6 separate regions of the Homo sapiens genome follow, and all the other regions are linked to region 5. The links are contacts of gene promoters, found by promoter capture Hi-C in blood cells and fetal thymus (Javierre and others, 2016). All regions are on one chromosome and are shown on one strand. The core of a region is centred on a gene start or on the middle of the fragment in contact, and the rest is flanking DNA. Distances in the headings are between cores, read along the strand shown. Region 1 has its middle 70 kb from the start of GCNT4. Region 2 overlaps GCNT4 (glucosaminyl (N-acetyl) transferase 4). Region 3 has its middle 32 kb from the start of HMGCR. Region 4 overlaps ANKRD31 (ankyrin repeat domain 31). Region 5 holds the start of ANKRD31 (ankyrin repeat domain 31). Region 6 has its middle 12 kb from the start of GCNT4.

Region 1 (2,708 bases), core at 203-2,702, 250 kb before region 5:
AAAAGTGAAGTCTGGTCCATACCTCACACCATCTACGAAATTTAATTCAAAATGGATCATAGATATAAATGTAAAATCTAAAACTACAAAATTCTAGAACATATAGAAAACATTTGTAACTCTGGGTCACAAAGATTTCTTAGATATATCTCTAAAAGCATGATGCATAAAAGAAATAATTGATACACTGAATTTTATCGAAATTAAAAACTGTGTTTTTGAAAGACACAGTCAAGAGAATGAATAGATAAGCCTCATACTGGGAGATAATATTTGCAAGTCATACATCTGGTAAAAATAATATATAACTCTGAAAACCTGATAACAGGAAAACAAACAACTCAATAAAGAAGTGGGGAAAATTTTGGACAGTCATCTTACCAAGAAAATGTATTGAAAATAAGCACATAAAGAGAATCTCAACAGCATTAAGGAAATGCAAATTAAAAGCACAATGCGCTGGGCACAGTGGCTTATGCCTTGTAATCCCAGCACTTTGGGAGGCAGAGGTGGGCGGATCACATGAGGTTGGCAGTTCAAGGCCAGCCTGGTCAACATGGTGAAACCCCGTCTCTACTAAAAATACAAAACGTAGCCAGGAATGATGGTGTATGCCTGTAGTCCCAGCTACTTGGGAGGCTGAGGCAGGAGAATCTCTTGAACCCAGCAGTCGGAGGTTGCAGTGAGCAGAGATCACACCACTGCACTCCAGCATGGGCGACAGAGCAAGACTCTGTCTCAAAACAACCCAAAACCAAAACCAAAACAACAACAACAACAAAAACAAAAACAAAAATCCATGATGAGATACACTATACAACTTTTAGAATGGCTAAAAGCTTTCTTTTTTAACCACCATACCAAGTGCTGGCAAGGAGGTACAAGAACTGGAACTCTCATACACTGCTGGTAGGGAAGTAACGTGGTAGAACCACACTGAAAACATTTGGGGTTTTATTAAAACAAATTCAATATTTATTTACCATACGACCCAGCCATCCTACTCCTAGATATTTACCCAAGAGGAAAGAAAATGTAGTTCATACATACCATTTTTTTGTCGTTGTTTATTTGGAGACAGAGTCTCGCTTTGTCACCCAGGCTGGAATGACTGGCAGGATCTCGGCTCACTGCAACCTCCACCTCCCAGGTTCAAGCTGTTCTCCTGCCTCAGCCTCCTGAGTAGCTAGGACTACAGTTGCCTGCAACCATGCCCAGCTAATAATTGTATTTTTTAGCAGAGATGGGGTTTCGTCATGTTGGCCAGGTTGGTCTCAAACTCCTGATCTCAAGTGATCCACCCAGCTTGGCCTCCCAAAGAGCTGAGATTATAGGCATGAACCACTGTGCACGGCCATACATAGACTTTTACACAAATGTTCTTAGTAGCTTTATTTGTAATAATCAAAAACTGGAAACAACCTAAATGCCCTTCAATAAGTGGGCAACATTTATGGATAAACAAAACATAATATATCCATAAATGAAATACTCTTTAGTAATAAAAAGAAAGAAACTATAGATACACACTACAACATGGATCAATCTAAAAATAATTATGCTGAGTGAAAGAAGCCAGACAGAAAAGAGTACATACTACTCTATAGAAAATTCTAGAAAATTCGAATCAGGCTACAGTGACAGAAAGCAGGTCCATGGTCACCTGAGGAGTACAGGAAGAGACAGGAGGGAGAGATTATAAAGGGGAACCAAGAAACTTTTGGGGGTGATAGACATGTTCACTATCTTGATGGTTGGGTTGGTTTCATGGGCATATACAAATGTCAAATTATCAAATTGCACCCTTTATGTGGCATTTATTCCATATCAAGTATACCTCTTTAAAGCTATTTTTAAAAGAAGGAAAAAAAAAAAGATTGCTATCCCTGACATTGTTGAGCCACTTAACCAATGGACTGCCTATCTCTAAATCTTTTGATTATGAAAAAAAAAAAAAAAAATGAAGCCATAGTAAGTCAGTTTTCCTGTTACTTGCAGCTGGAAGCATAACTTACCACTGCAACTACACAACACCTTGGCTTATATAATAAAAGTCACAGAATATTCAAGCTTGAAGAGATCTTGGGGATCAGCCATTCAAAGCCTATCCTGCCTGCCCCACTCCACTGCCATCCCCCCCAACTTTTCTTTACAGATAAGGAAACAGAAATTCAGAAGCTTGGAGGGACTTGCCCAGACTGACACAGCAGATCTATTAGGAGCTGCAGGATGAGAGCCGCAGTGTCCCGGTGTCCTGACTCCAAAAGCTGGGCTCTTTCCAGTGCACCATATCGCAGTCTGCCTTTTCAATTTTTAATTTCTAAATTTTATTTCCTTAAAACAGCAAAGAGAAAAAAATACAGGGTGGAATTTAATGCTCACAAGTAGAATTACCTAGAGGAATCATTGTATGTTTTATAAATGAGGCAACAGAGCTTTGGGGTGCAGATGAGAAAGGGATATTTTCTCTTAGTCACAAAGCCAACATTAAACACAGGCCTCTTGAGACACTACTTGCCCTAATGATTCTCAAATATATGACTTATTTCTAGTAGTCAACACCTGCCTTCGTGAAATAAACACTCCTCTATGTGTGTGTGCCTGGAATAGCAATCCTGATGTTTCTAAGGGTATTCACATTTTAAAAGTGAAGTGTAAAAATTCAGTCATTTTGTGTTGGTTGACATTTTTTAAATGGCATGTCTTTT
Region 2 (2,789 bases), core at 286-2,785, 200 kb before region 5:
TGCCTCAGGATCTTTGCAACTCCTGTTTCCATGTCTAGACTACTTTTCCTGGATCCTAGCATGACCAGCTGCTCCAGGAAAAGAAATAGCTTTTCCTCAGGTCCTCTCTGATAACTTTTTTTTTTTTTTTTTGAGAGTCTCGCACTGTCGCTTAGGCTGGAGTGCAGTGGCGCCAACTCAGCTCACTGCAACCTCCGCCTCCCAGATTAACCCTTCTTAAATCTCTCTCCTATCACACTCCTTGTTTTCTTCTGAGCACTTGCTACAAGGAGTAGTTACTTTACTTGTTTAGTACCTGTCCTGAGACAGAAACATAAGGTCTTTGAAGGCCTCACTCACTACTTTACCCCCAGTATTAAAGACATCCATACCTGGTACGGGGTAGTTGCTCAATGGGACAGAGTCAGAAGACCTAAGTTCTAGTCTGGGCTCTGCCACAAAAAATTCTTCAAGTGACTCTAGCATATCACTTAATCTTGGCAAATCTTTCTTTCCCATGTGTTAAATGGGATAATGTTTTTTCTATCCCACAGTGCAACTGTGAAAGTCTTATGATGTAATGTATGTGAAAGTCATGGGGAAAAAGACAACTTTGGTATGCAAATGTCAGGTATGAGGACCTCCACAAGAGGAATGGTTTCTTGGGAAAACTGAGAAAGAGTCAATGTGTTATAAGTTGGTTTTATTTTTCTAAAACAGTACATTCATTATTCCCTTCATTCTGACATTCTAATCATTATTGGTTTTTCACTACTTGACAGCATTCTTTTTTGTTAATATCTGGAGTATAAATTGTCCCTAAAGTTTCAGAATTATGTAGACAAACACCTGTCTTGGATTTTGAGAGACAGGAAGAAATGTAGTTAATCTTTAGAGTTTTTTCCCCAGTATGCTCGATATTTTTCAAAAGATTAATAACCAAAAAAGTTATTTAAAAGACAGCCAAGAGCACGTGCAATCAGTTTCATGCAGTTATGATTGGCTAAACGCGGTCTGTAAGTATGTGTTGCAAAAGCTATAAGCTTTTCCTGTAAGTTCATTATCTTTTATGGGCAATTCTCCAGGTATTGCAAAAATGCAATGACTTGTTCTTGCATCCCTGTTTGGTGAAGCCATCCCTAAGGACCACGGAACCCACAAAGCAGTACTGAAGATTCTGCAGCAATGTGAATACACAAACACACCCTCACCCAGGGCCTTTGCCAGTCCTCTGTCATTCAGATCACACATCAGTGAGACTGGCTCAGCTCAGTGAATTGAGATGCCCTCAACTAAAGGAGCTCTGTTTGATGTTCCTGTGGAATGTATGACAATTGACAGCTTTCTCTCTAGGCCTGCAATTATGAACGTCATCATCTTCCCTGAATAAAGGACTACTTTACCTGCAAGATTTGGAGAATAGAGACCTAAAGGAAAACACTGAGCATGAAAATAATTCTATCAACCACCTCTATAGATTATAATTCTTCTAGCTAGAAACTTTACTGGAGCCTCTCACATTTGGGCAGAAATAAAGGACCTGTAAGATTACATGGGAAATGAGTAACCCACATCAGGATGTACATACCCACGCATAGACCTCTCAAGGTCATTGGAAATCTGGGCTGTAGCAATGTAACAACAACAACAACAACAAAAAGAAGCGCAGAATTCAGCCCATGGTCACACCAATTGGGAAACAGTAGACTTGATTCTGGGCTTTATTTCATCTGGTCCACAGGGCAAATATCAAAAGCTGACTGTGTGTGTATCTAGCTGGGCAAAGATACATGGCTAAAGTCTTTAGCAGGAAGTGTAAAGGGCCACATACAATGAAACTGAATGAAAAGTTTTTGTTTTGTAATAGATTGTGACCCTCAAAAGGGAGTAAAACATTAACAGTTTTTCTCTAAAGAAAATTCTAAAAAATATCAGAAGATGGTGAATTTCAAAAATACTTATGCCTTCAAATTTCAGTTTGATGAAAAAGCTCACATGAAACGTTTGCTTCTTTTTAGATATAAAGGATTATGAAAAAGGGGTGAATGAATGCATTACATCTTTGCCTCTCAAGCTTTATCAAAGAGGTTTCATTCCTTCTTGGGATCCCCGTCTTCTCTGCCCTTCTCACTTAGCTTGACACAACATAAAGCCAAACTACATTTTATGTTTCATGTTCTAAGTTAAAAATATGGGTTGAGAATATTTTGGCTTCTTTTTCTATAAAGTAGAAAAACTGAATTGAAAAACATGTCTATTTTTGAAAATGTGTATCTATTGCACTAGAAAGAAAATAACTTTCTCCACCTAATATCTACATGGTATGCTTTTTTTTCCCCCTCAGAAATTTTTGGAAGCATTTATTTTGGTATTATATGGCTAACTCCATATTTTTCAACTGGCCAAAATTAATTCCTCAAAGATTCCATGGCTAGCTGAAGAGGTATGGGTAACTGATTTCTAAATGTGCATTTAAAGTAGAATCTCCATGTCCATCGCAGAGGCAGCACAGGGATAAACAGACATGAATCAAGGGTATTGATGTCAGAAATGGCTTGAGGCCAGACCACACTCTTCATGAATGGATTAGACACCCTGAGTTTAAAATCATCACCCTGAAAACCCTGAGTTTTAAGTCATGAGAAGAGCTTGCTTGTTTGTTTTCTGGGTTCTTCCAATGTGGTGGGGAGCTCAGCTGGAGACTTCAACATGCTTCTGCACTTCCACTGAAAAACAGGATTGGCAGCTCTTGGCATGACTTCACCATTTAGCTAAGATCTGTGTGTTTCTTGGCTTAAAATGTACATATT
Region 3 (2,801 bases), core at 52-2,551, 130 kb after region 5:
TCTTCCCCAAACCACCCTGTGATGTAGCCATAGTAGGTGGCTTTGTATAATTTTATAGATTAAAATAGACTTAGACACATTAAAATGATTTGCCCAAGATAAAAGCTGTTCAAGTGAGAGAGCAAGAGAACCTCTGGTCTTCTGACTTCTAAGTCTCATTCTTTCTCAGTATGTTTAACACATGGTAACCAGGAACTTGGAAATTTACTTAGAAATAACAACAACAAAAACCTACTGGATGCTGGGAATGAAAAGTGAGTCACAGACTATAAATTGTAGTTTTAAATTAAAATGAATACCATTAATGTGGTGCTATCAATGTACAGAGGTTGGTAAACTTAAAACACAGCAACAACCTATTTCCTATCTATCTTTTGAGAACTGAGAACCAAGAATTAAAAACACTTTTGTACATCTCAAATGTGGCTAAATCTATTGTTCAATGTACCTTATTCAAATGCTTCTGATCTCAAATCCTTTTTTTTTTTTTTTTTTTTTTTAAGATGGAGTCTTGCCCTGTCGCCCAGGCTGGAGTACAATGGTGCAATCTTGGCTCATTGTAACCTCTGCCTCCCGGGTTCAAATGATTCTCCTGCCTCAGCCTCCCGAGTAGCTGGGATTACAGGTGCCCGCCACCACACCCAGCTAATTTTTGTATTTTTAGTAGAGACGGGGTTTCACAATGTTGGCCAGGCTGGTCTCGAACTCCTGACCTCGTGATCCACCTGCCTCGGCCTACCAAAGTGCTGGGATTACAGGTGTGAGCCACCGCGCCCGGGCCAGCCTATTTCCTTTAACTTTGGATACATTTCTTAAAAGCCTGGTTATGACAACAATGAAGGCTATATGCTGGTTATCGTTTATCTCCAATCCTTCATGGCATGTAGTAGGAGCTCAATAAATACTTGCTCTGGGAACTGTTTTAGGGTGCTGGGGAATTACTGATATCCAATTTGCTAAAGTGTTTTGGACATTGACTAAACCTTGATTTAGCTGCTGCACGCAGATTCCCTGCTGCTGGACCCAGTTACCACTTAAACCTCCCAATCCTAACAACGGTAATACAGAAAAGAACCACAGTAAACCAAGCTGCAGTGAATCCAAAGCTCGCTTTATTTCCTCAGTGGTCATTCTGTGGCAGGCAGCCAACAAAACAGTGATAGTTATATTGCAGCTCATCCTTGGGTTGAAAATCTGGGATAAAATCCTTGGGCTTGTTTGTAGTAGTGTTTTATGACTCAGTTTCCTGTTTCATCCTCTGAGCTGGAGGACAGGAAGAAAGTTTAAGCACCTAATTGTGATCAAATTTCATCTTTACTGCCCTCCTTTCTGTATCTGGTGGGATTTTGTAAGACACATCGTTATAAAAGCCCCTTGACTTATGATGGGGCTACATACTGATAAGCCCCACTGTAAGTTGAAAATAAAACAATAATGTACTTTTGACAGAAGCACCTCCATTTATGATGTGGCTATGTGCTGATAAGCCCACTGCAAGTTGAAAATAACGTAAGTTGAAAACTTTTTTTTTTTTGGAGACAGAGTCTTGCTGTATCACCCAGGCTGGAGTGCAGTGGTGTAATCTCAGCTCACTGCAACTTCCACCTCCCGGGATCAAGCAATTCTCCTGACTCAGCCTCCTGAGTAGCTGGGGATTACAGGTGCATGCCACCACACCCAGCTAACTTTTTTATTTTTAGTAGAGACAAGGGGTTTCACCATGTTAGACAGGCTGGTCTTCAACTCCTGACCTCAGGCAATCCACCCGCCTCAGTCTTCCAAAGTGCTGGGATTACAGGTGTGAGCCGCTGCCCCCGGCTGAAAATGTACTTTTGACTTACGGTATTTTCCATATATGACTGGTTTATCGGAACGCAGCCCCATGGTAAGTTGGAGTGTACTGTATTTGTAGTGCTTTGCATAAAGTCGAACAATCATAAATCGAACCATTGTTAAGGAACCATGTGTATTTGGAATTTTGTGAAGCCAATATTGAAGTGTGGGACTAAGACCCATACACCAAAATTGCTAGTCTTCAAGCATGTTAGCTCTTTCTAGTCCATCAAACACTATATTCTAGATATTACACATAGGCATTAAAAAGTAGAGTCTAATGGGAAAAAAAAAAACTTAAGAGTCAGGGAATCAGTAGGTTTGTAACCCCAACCTGTTCCCTCATCTGTAAAACAGGGGTGGTACCACCAATCACCGCTACCACCTCCACAGGACTGTTGAGTGGGGAGGAGTCAGAAAAGGCATAGTGCCGGTACAGACACGGCGGAGATACCCTCACACACCACCTCATCAACCACAGAGCCTGGGTGACAGGAAAATCCTGGTTTGGCATCTTCTAATAACTTCAGAGATCTTAAAGATTTGTTCTAGTACTAACCTCACAGAATTCTATAGGAAGAGAGAATGAAGAGGCCAAATAAAGTAGCTTCACTTATGGTATTTGTGCAAGGCTATTCAAAGTATACAGATGTGGAACGTTCACAGAAAATGTGTCTTAAAAGGTAGACAATATAAATGATAGTATGAACTCTGTTGTAACCAAGTTCGAATAATGGCAAGAAAATCTGGAAGATCCTATAAAAGCAACCTCATTTGAAACTGCTAGTTAGAACTACACCTTATTTGCAGGTTATATGCCAAAGTCAAGTCTAAAGAAAAACTGCACAGTTAAAAGTGCCCTAGAAAATCCCTCTAGGAATGAGGACCACATAATATTTCTCTGTCATCAAATTCAACACAAGTCAGATTTTCCCTCCAGCATCCCACCAGATTAAGTAGTTGGCTTT
Region 4 (2,700 bases), core at 123-2,622, 160 kb before region 5:
TAATATGGAGTGATATGCATAATATTTGACAATCTATTTGATCTATTTGCACAATATGTAGAATCTAAACACTTATAAAAGTAAATGGAATTGAATATTTTCTTTTTTTTTTACCTTGTCCAAATTTTGTTTTCTCAAACATTGATTTGTTTGGTTCCTGTACTGGGTCATCTAAACAAGCAACTTCTGAAAGTGAAACAAAACGTTAGTAATAATTTTGCTGAATTAGGGGACTGCTCTGGTCAAATCAGGATGATGGTCACCCTACCGATGGGAAATACAAATAGCTCTTCCTTGACATTTTAGGAGAGATGATTTAAAAAATAAAATAATAAACTAAAAATGGCTCTTCCTACTTCCCCTTATTTCCCCAAAAACAGTATTCTAAAAAGTATGGTCATCAAAAAGCATAAGAGAACAGATTATGTTTGTGACCTGAGGTAGGCTGATGAAAGCCACACAAAATTATTTTTTTTTTTTAGACTTTCTGGTCTCTACAGTGTCAGAGCCATGATTTCCATGATGATATTTCGATATGCAGAAGAGGGAGAAAGATTCTCTCCTGAGAGTTTTTCTTGTAATAGGGTTAGAGAGTTTTGCATTGTCCTAACTTGCCAGGTCTCTGGGTTTCTGTCAGGTACCACAAAACCAGCTACAGAAGAATTCTAATTAAGGAGATTCAGACAAAATTCCAACAGCAGCCTACAGAATGCCAGCAGGGCTCTGCCTATAGATTCTTAGGTCCAGACCAAGGTAGCAAGAAGCTGGTTGGCACACTGCTACCTCCATGGTTCTTAAATTAACATTAAAATTTCCTTTTCTTTTTTTTTTTAAGACAGAGCTTCGCTCTTGTCACCCAGGCTGGAGTCCAATGGCGCAGTAACATAAAAATTTTCTGAAATATCTAATGGAAAGAAAAATCAGGATTTGTGAAAATAAATAAATAACAGGAAACTGTTTATATTACAGGCAACAGAAATAGCAGTTCAGAACCCATTTCTGACTTCATGCTCACTTAAAAGGGAGATTGTGTGCCCTCTGAGGAAGGAGATACCTATCTAGGGTTGGAAATGCCTGCCTAGAACTAGAAAATCTGAGGAACAGATGACCTTCATGATAGAAGGAAATACTTACTGCTCTGCTTCAACTCTTAGGTTAGAAACCAGAAGAAGAAAGCATTTGTTTGGTTTTCCTTCAAGTGTGTGTTTGGGGTGGGTGGTGGGGAGGAGGCAGAGAGAGAGAGAGACAGAGAGAGAGAGAGAGACAGAGAGAGAGAGAGAGAGAAAGGGATGGAGCAACGGGGGCGGAGAGAGAGAGAGAGGATAGAGTACTTTAGCAATTCCAATTCCACCCTCAGGAATCAAAGTAAAGGGGTGAATATCAAGGACTGTCAAATTATTATTTGCACAAGAAATCAAATACTATTAGTCATCCAAAGTCTATAGTCAGGCTGGCTGTGTAAGAGTCACTTTAAAAAATTCAGGTTACTGGGCCTTACCCCATGATTTGATTAGGTAGATTAGATAGGTAGTCAGCTTAGGAACCAAAGGCCATGAACTACTACAAGAACTCTTTTCAATTTCTTAAGCCCTTTAACTTCCCCACAGTTATTAATGTTACCTGTTTTAATGTTACCAGTTATTAATATTACCAGTTATTAATGTTATCTGTTTCCCAAAAATGATGAAAAACACTTTTGAGGCTATCTTCAGAAAACTGTGGAGAATGCACCCTATTAATGGAGCCAGTTTTTATGACAGAGGAGGATCCTGAGAAATTAGGGTGCAAAAGTTAGGAAAGGAATGTAGTTTGAATTATTGGGGCTTGTTATAGGAAAGGAACAGTCCCAGGGAGGCCCTGGGTAGGGACTTGGTGATAGAAACCCTGTTTAATTCTTGGCCCTGGTTATCACAGTATCATCATTTTTTGTTTTGTACCTCCTCTCTTCTGTATTGTCCCCAAATGGTCAAAGACAGGGACACTAGGAAAAAAAAGAGGGGATGCTGTAGCATAGGAGGGTAATATAACTGTAGTTATGGCTGTTATTCAGAAATGTGTGCTGCCTTTTTCCAGATCATTTCAAAATCTGCTGCTCACTGGTGAAGACTACATTCTCTTTAGTTTACTCAGGCTAAAGGCTATTCCATCTGATAAAGGGTATTAGTTTACTCTAATAAGCAAAGATTTATTTTAATGCTTATTTTTAGAAAATAAACAAAACCAAATCATGTCTTCAGAAAGAAAAACAACACTCATTTTTTCCTTTTATATGATACTTAAAAATCTATCCAAAGTAAGTACAGCATAGATTCAGAGAAAGGAATTGTGAGGGATGGGGTAATTTCTTAAATTCTGCTAGAATTAACTAAGGTTAAAAATTGAGTGCTATAAAACAAACAGAAAATAACAAGTATTGCAGAGATGCAGAAAAACTGGAACCCTTGTACATTCCTGCTGGGAATGCAAAATGATTCAGTTGCTATGGAAAACAGATTCGCTGTGCTTCCTACATAGAATTACTATGTAATAAATATTGAGTATCCTTAGTCCAAAATGCTTGGGACCAGAAGTATTTTGGATTTTAGATTTTTTCAAATTTTGGAATATTTGCATATACATGAGATATCTTGGGGATTGGCCCAAGTCTAAACATGAAATTCATTTATGTTTCATATACACCTAAACACAAATCCTGAAGGT
Region 5 (2,858 bases), core at 138-2,637:
GTTCTTTTTTGTCTTTCAGCTTTGAACCATCCAGTGGGCACAGACAGTAAACCTATTTTTATCCAGAAGACCAAGGAAAATGACCCCTGCATGCCAGAAGGTATAGGACAAAGCCCAGGGCTTTATGTTGCTTTCTCTCTCACCTCCCAGCCCTGCCCCAAGGCTGGCCCTAGCCTCAGAGCAGACACCAACCATGGCAACTGGGGAACATAAAACTCAAGAGAAAGTGTCTACCAGAGGAACTGGGAAAAGGGATCGGTATTGCCTGAAAAGTGTGGACAGAATCCCCCTTTTTTCTCTCTTTTCTTAACTCTGTGCTAAAGGCTGTCCCCCTTGTAAGGAACTGCTGTATAGTGAAAAGGCTAACACTCAAAGAAACCTGTCTTTCTGATCATATGAACTGGCAAGTGGGTATGATGAGGAAAGGGGGCAGGAGAATCCTGGAGAAGAGAGAGAGGGAAAGGAGAATGACCTAATTCTGTGTACGATCCAACTTAAGTCCCAGACACAGCCCTGAGCACATATGAAGCAGACCTAGTGGCCTCATCCCTGCCCTCTTTTCCCTGTGTCTAGCACAGAGAATATGTTAGAGAAAGGTTTCGATAACCTGAAATACCGACTTTTTTGGATTCGTATAAAACTATTCGTTTCCAGTTTGGCAGGGACCAGTTTCCCCATCACACATTCTTTTCTTGAGAGAAACTGTTACCCATTTTCCTAGAACTGAGCTACGAGTCTCTTGAAGCAAAATGAAGTCTCCTGAAACAAAATGCAGTTAAGTTCAGACCCAAGATCTTTTTTGCTTGTGCAAAAAGACTTAAAGCCCCCAAAAGGAAAGCCTTTTGAAAAATGCTATAAAGCCACCTAGTACAAACCTCATTTTATCCCTAGCTGGTTGGGGGTAGGTGGGAACAGACTGTGTTTGCTTATTTACAAGCTCTCAGCTCAGGCACGGCTGCCCCACAAGGCTCTGATCCTGCCCACAAGCACATGTTCTGGTCACGATCTCCACTCAAAACTCTGACCCCCTCAGAGGGCACCTGGGCCGCCCTGGCGCGAGGGTTCAGGCACTGTGGCCCTAATGATGGTCACCTTCTCCAGGGCAGCTCCTTTTCTTCCAGGTCGCTCTCCGTCACTGAACCCTCTATCACAGTTTCATCACTGTCCCAGTCTGGGGCCTGGACGCCTTCCTCCATCTTTGCCTCACATTCAAAGTCTTTTTTACCCTCCTCTAACTCCCTCTTGCCCGCAAACAAAAAAACGCTTTGAGGGCCAGGGGAAATTGTGAATTAAAAATAAAAATAATATAATCGCAGCAGGAGCCGGGACTTGTCGCAGGGCTGCTGAGGAGGACGCAGGCGGCCGCGAGCGCGGCGGGGTAGCAGTCTGCGAGGCGGCCCGCGGGTCCCGCCGCTCGTCGCAGACAGGGGGCAGCCGCTCGCCACACGACGGAGCCCTGCGCAGCGCTCGGCCCCGCCCCCAGCTCCCGTGGCCGGAAGTGGGAGGCCGCGCGCGCGCGCGCAGGCCTACTCTGGGCGTGGCCTGCCGCTGCGTGTTTTTTTCACGGTTTCTCATTCTCGGTCGCTAGGCTTTGAGGGTGCTGGGGTTGCTGCTGCAGAGACCAGAAAGGCAGGCGTGGCGCACCCAGAACTCAGACCGAGCCTGCTTAACACCCTTGGCCGGGAGGGTGACCTGCCATGCACCTGATGCTTGTGAGCCCCAGATACGGGAAGAGCTGTCAGCTCCTGCCCGCCCCAGCAGCCCTGGCATTCTGGAGCCAGAATGCGACCTTAGACCTAAAGAGAGTTTTTGCAGCCCACCAAGTGCTTCCTTTCCCTTTAATCCCTTGACAGCCTCTCCTCAAGTGTCCTCTGAGGTAGACAAAACAGATACGTTTATCAGAAGTTTTAGCTCATCAACTAATCTCAGTGATGTATTTTGCATTTTTTTTTTCTCTCAACAACGCTTTGGTTACCTGAAATACAGATTATGCAGGAAAGGCAGGATAAATGCTTTATTTTTTCCTCTTTTATCAATTTTTATAATAATAGTAATGCCTAGCAACCTCCAAAAGTAGTCAATTGCGTTTTAATGAAGTACTAGAATTTTATATATTTGATGTGTTTCAGTCTAGTTGAACATTTTTAATTCAAACTAATTCAAAACAAAGCCAAGTGAGCTTCCACTTGCCAAGTGAGAAGAAGATTCAAGAAAAGACCAAGTTGTTTTCCCATAGCAAGTGTTTAGTATTCACCTTGGAGTCTCCAGCATCTAGCACATATAAAGTCTAAGTTTTGTCATAAATGGATGGAGCTAGAGATTTCTGACTTCCCAATTCATTGCCCTTTTCACTATATGGAGTAGCTTTGCCATTATTATCATTATTATTATTTTGTGTTTTTACTATGTATATTCAAGCCACTGCTATTTAAAATGCTTGATTGGTGATTATCTTCTAAACTTAACTTGAGGCTGGGGGTGGTGGCTCTACCTGTAACCTCAATGCATTGGAGGCCGAGGCAGGAGGATTGCTTGAGACCAGAAGTTCAAGACCAGCCTGGGCAACATGGTGAGACCCCTATCTCTGCAAAAAATTTGTTTTTAATTAGCAGGGCATGGTAGCATGGGCCTGTAGTCCCAGCTACTCAGGTTGAGGCGGGAGGATCGCTTGAGCCCAGGAGTTTGAGGTTATAATGAGCTATGATTGAGCAAACGCACTCCAGCCTGAGCAACAGAGTCATACCATGTCTCAAAAAATAAAAAAATAAACTTACTTGAATAAGTAACTTACTTAAATAAAATTCCTCGCCTCAACTCTGTAAATTAGGCAGAGCAATAATAAATATGCAAAGAACTAG
Region 6 (2,867 bases), core at 326-2,825, 170 kb before region 5:
GGCAGGGGAGTTGACCAGAGAGAGCCAACCTGGCTTTTTATACAGGCCCACTTTTGTGATAACTAACCCACTCCCATTATAACCCATTAATCCATTAACTCATGAAAAAATTAATTAATTTATTGTTTATGAGGCCTGGCCCTCATGACCCAGTCACTTTTTTTTTTTTTTTTTTTGGAGAGGGAGCTTCGCTCTGTCGTCCAGGCTGGAGTGCAGTGGCACGATCTCGGCTCACTGTAAGCCCCGCCTCCCAGGTTCACACCATTCTCTTGCTTCAGCCTCCTTAGTAGCTGGGACTACAGGCACCCACCACCACGCCTGGCTAATTTTTTGCATTTTTAGTAGAGACGAGGTTTCACTTTGTTAGCTAGGATGGTCTCAATCTCCTGACCTCGTGATCGGCCCGCCTCAGCGACCCAGTCATTTCTTAAAGGCTCCATCTCCCACCACTGCTACATTGGGGATTAAGTTTCAGCATGAGTTTCAGAGGGAACCACGAAGCCATAGCAATGTATGTTTAGAATCTTCCAACAGCCAAGCCAGTGGAAGCTGTGCCATAATAATTCAGCTTGTAAAAAAAAGAAGTATTATCATTTAGAGTTGTGAGGCCTGGAACATAGGGGTTCCGGCTTTCTAACACTGAGGACTACCTGTTTGAAAAGGAATAGGCTTCCTTTTTGGGTATGGAGTATTCCAGAGATGTTCAAAAAATCAGTTTTATAAAAAGGATAAAAATACCACGTATGAGATTGATTAGATATTTTTCATCTATGGTTTAGGGTCAGAAGCCTAAGCTTTCATTTAGAATCCAGAGTAGGTAAAACATGTAGCTAACATCCTAAATTGCCCAGTCTTCTCACAGAGATAATCTAGGGTAAGGTAGTTCTCTCCAACTCTGGTTGGAGTAGACCCTTTTGTTGTTTAGTTTGGGCAATGCTCAGCATGCCTGAAGGGCAATGGATGTTATTTCAGTCACCAGTTGGTATATAAAATAGAGTAAAAGGGCTTGGGAAATTAAGAATTTAATCACCAAAATGAAAACTTAGAATTGCAAGATCTTTTGTATTAAAAACTTAGCATATATGACTTTCATAGATTGTAATCACTAGACAAAATGCCTGTTTTAAAAATTATTATCTTAAATTTTTTTTAATTACAAAAGACATGTGTGCCTAATTTCTTCTTAAAGTCGAAAGTAAACTATAAAAGTACCCTTTCATCCTCCTCAGTCTAGCTTCCTTAGGGATAGGCACTATAAACATTTGTATCTGTAGCATTCTAGAACTTTTACTGAACATACCCCCACCTCCACCCCACACGCATAGAAACACACATTTTTGGAGCTATTTATTAAAAAGTATATATTATATATTTATATATAGTATGCATATATAATATACCTTATCTACATATATACCAGTATATGTGTATATATTATGCATGCAAAGGTATATAATTTTTCTTTAATAAGCCAGTACTTGCATTAAACATTGTCCAAAAATTTACATTTTATTTATATATATAATTTAATTAGTACATATATTCTCAAATGGCTCATATTTTAATTATCTTAAATAATAAAGCAAAATACAGAATAAAGTCTCATACAGATTATTTAAGAATTAGAAAAACAGGCACTCCAAGGAAATTATAGTGAAACAATATAATTTTCTGTTGGTTCTCAAATATAACAATATGTAGGGTTATTCTATCCTGAACATTTGCATTGGACTCTTGAAGGAAGAAAAATAAAATGATTTAATATGTCCTTACACTTTTATTAATAGACAAATATTTCCAGGTACATGTAGTCAAAAGTAGGTCTTTTTCCTTGGTTCTCCAGCCCCGTAATTTATTTCTCCAGAGGCCACTGTTAAGCAGTTTCTTATATATTCTAAAGATGTATCTTAATGTTCTATACGTTTAAAATAAGAAAATATTCAAAAAGCAACACCATATCACCACCCACCAAAATCACTGGACTTGCATGAGAGCAGGCACACCTCATTTTATTGCACTTTGCAGATATTATCTTTTTTTTTTTTTTTTTTTTTACAAATTGAAGGTTTGTGGCAACCCTGCATTGAGCAAGTCTATCAGCACCAGTTTTTCCAACAGCACGTGCTCACTTCGTGTCTGTGTCACATGTGGGTAATTCTCAAAATATTTCTAACTTTTTTGTTATTATTATATCTGATATGATAATCTGTGAGCAATGATCTTCGATGTTATTATTATAGTTGTTTTGTTCCGACAATATTGAAGTTAGGCCAGTTAGTAACCCTATAATGGCCTAAGTATTCAAGTGAAAGAAAGAGTTGCACACCTCTCACTTTAAATCAAAAGCTAGAAATGATTAAGCTTAGTGAAGAAGGCATATTGAAAGCTGGGATATGCCTAAAGCTAGGTCTCTTGCATCAAACTGTTAGGTAAGTTGTGAATGCAAAGGAAGAGTTCTTGAAGGAAATTAAAAGTGTTACTTCAGTGAACACACAAATGATAAGAAAGCAAAGCAGCCTTATTGCTGAGATAAAGTTTGAGTTGTCTGGATAGAAGATCAAACTGGCCACAACATTCCTTTAAGCCAAAACCTAATCCAGAGCAAGGCCCTAACTCCAATTCATGAAGGCTGAGAGAGGTGAGGAAGCTGCAGAAGAAAAGTTTGAAGCTGGCAGAGGCTGGTTCATGAAATTTAAAGAAAGAAGCTGTCTCTACAATACAAATGCAAGGTGAAGCAGCACGTGCTGATGTAGATGTTGCAGTAAATCATCGAGAAGACCTGGCTAGATTATTGATGAAGGTGGCTGTACTAAACAGATTTTCATTATAGATTAATCAGCCTTCTGTTGGAAGAAGATGCCATGTAG

Evidence for each region. The method cuts DNA at HindIII sites, captures the fragments that hold promoters and counts their contacts. A CHiCAGO score of 5 or more calls a contact.
Region 1: a fragment that was not itself captured here is called in contact with the fragment with the promoter of ANKRD31 in region 5 in 1 of 17 cell types (non-activated CD4 T cells); the score reaches 5.8 in non-activated CD4 T cells.
Region 2: a contact is called between a fragment that was not itself captured here and the fragment with the promoter of ANKRD31 in region 5, in 8 of 17 cell types (naive CD4 T cells, non-activated CD4 T cells, activated CD4 T cells and 5 more). The highest score is 13.8, in naive CD4 T cells.
Region 3: a fragment that was not itself captured here is called in contact with the fragment with the promoter of ANKRD31 in region 5 in 1 of 17 cell types (neutrophils); the score reaches 5.9 in neutrophils.
Region 4: a contact is called between a fragment that was not itself captured here and the fragment with the promoter of ANKRD31 in region 5, in 5 of 17 cell types (fetal thymus, naive CD4 T cells, non-activated CD4 T cells and 2 more). The highest score is 7.4, in fetal thymus.
Region 6: a fragment that was not itself captured here is called in contact with the fragment with the promoter of ANKRD31 in region 5 in 8 of 17 cell types (naive CD4 T cells, activated CD4 T cells, fetal thymus and 5 more); the score reaches 11.2 in naive CD4 T cells.

Annotation. Positions count from the first base shown.
Region 1 is chr5:74,981,399-74,984,106 of GRCh38, forward strand. No RefSeq gene overlaps it. Among named protein-coding and RNA genes, the nearest start is that of GCNT4, 70 kb to the right of the region's middle. The HindIII fragment of the contact is 1,231 bases long and covers 838-2,068 here.
Region 2 is chr5:75,040,069-75,042,857 of GRCh38, forward strand. The region is part of intron 3 of GCNT4 (glucosaminyl (N-acetyl) transferase 4); the gene reads right to left. Among named protein-coding and RNA genes, the nearest start is that of GCNT4, 11 kb to the right of the region's middle. The HindIII fragment of the contact is 1,031 bases long and covers 1,021-2,051 here.
Region 3 is chr5:75,367,396-75,370,196 of GRCh38, forward strand. It overlaps a transcript of CERT1 not described here. Among named protein-coding and RNA genes, the nearest start is that of HMGCR, 32 kb to the left of the region's middle. The HindIII fragment of the contact is 5,347 bases long and covers 1-2,801 here.
Region 4 is chr5:75,080,454-75,083,153 of GRCh38, forward strand. It overlaps ANKRD31 (ankyrin repeat domain 31), which reads right to left. Exons shown (of 26, transcript NM_001372053.1): 25 at 115-186. Among named protein-coding and RNA genes, the nearest start is that of GCNT4, 29 kb to the left of the region's middle. The HindIII fragment of the contact is 5,333 bases long and covers 1-2,700 here.
Region 5 is chr5:75,235,491-75,238,348 of GRCh38, forward strand. ANKRD31 (ankyrin repeat domain 31) reads right to left here and starts at 1,388. Exons shown (of 26, transcript NM_001372053.1): 1 at 1,093-1,388. The coding sequence starts at 1,196. LOC124901006 (a long non-coding RNA gene) reads left to right here and starts at 1,548. Exons shown (of 2, transcript XR_007058823.1): 1 at 1,548-1,876. RefSeq lists an enhancer at 1,109-1,278 and a silencer at 1,329-1,628. The HindIII fragment of the contact is 5,895 bases long and covers 1-2,858 here.
Region 6 is chr5:75,063,589-75,066,455 of GRCh38, forward strand. No RefSeq gene overlaps it. Among named protein-coding and RNA genes, the nearest start is that of GCNT4, 12 kb to the left of the region's middle. The HindIII fragment of the contact is 1,567 bases long and covers 793-2,359 here.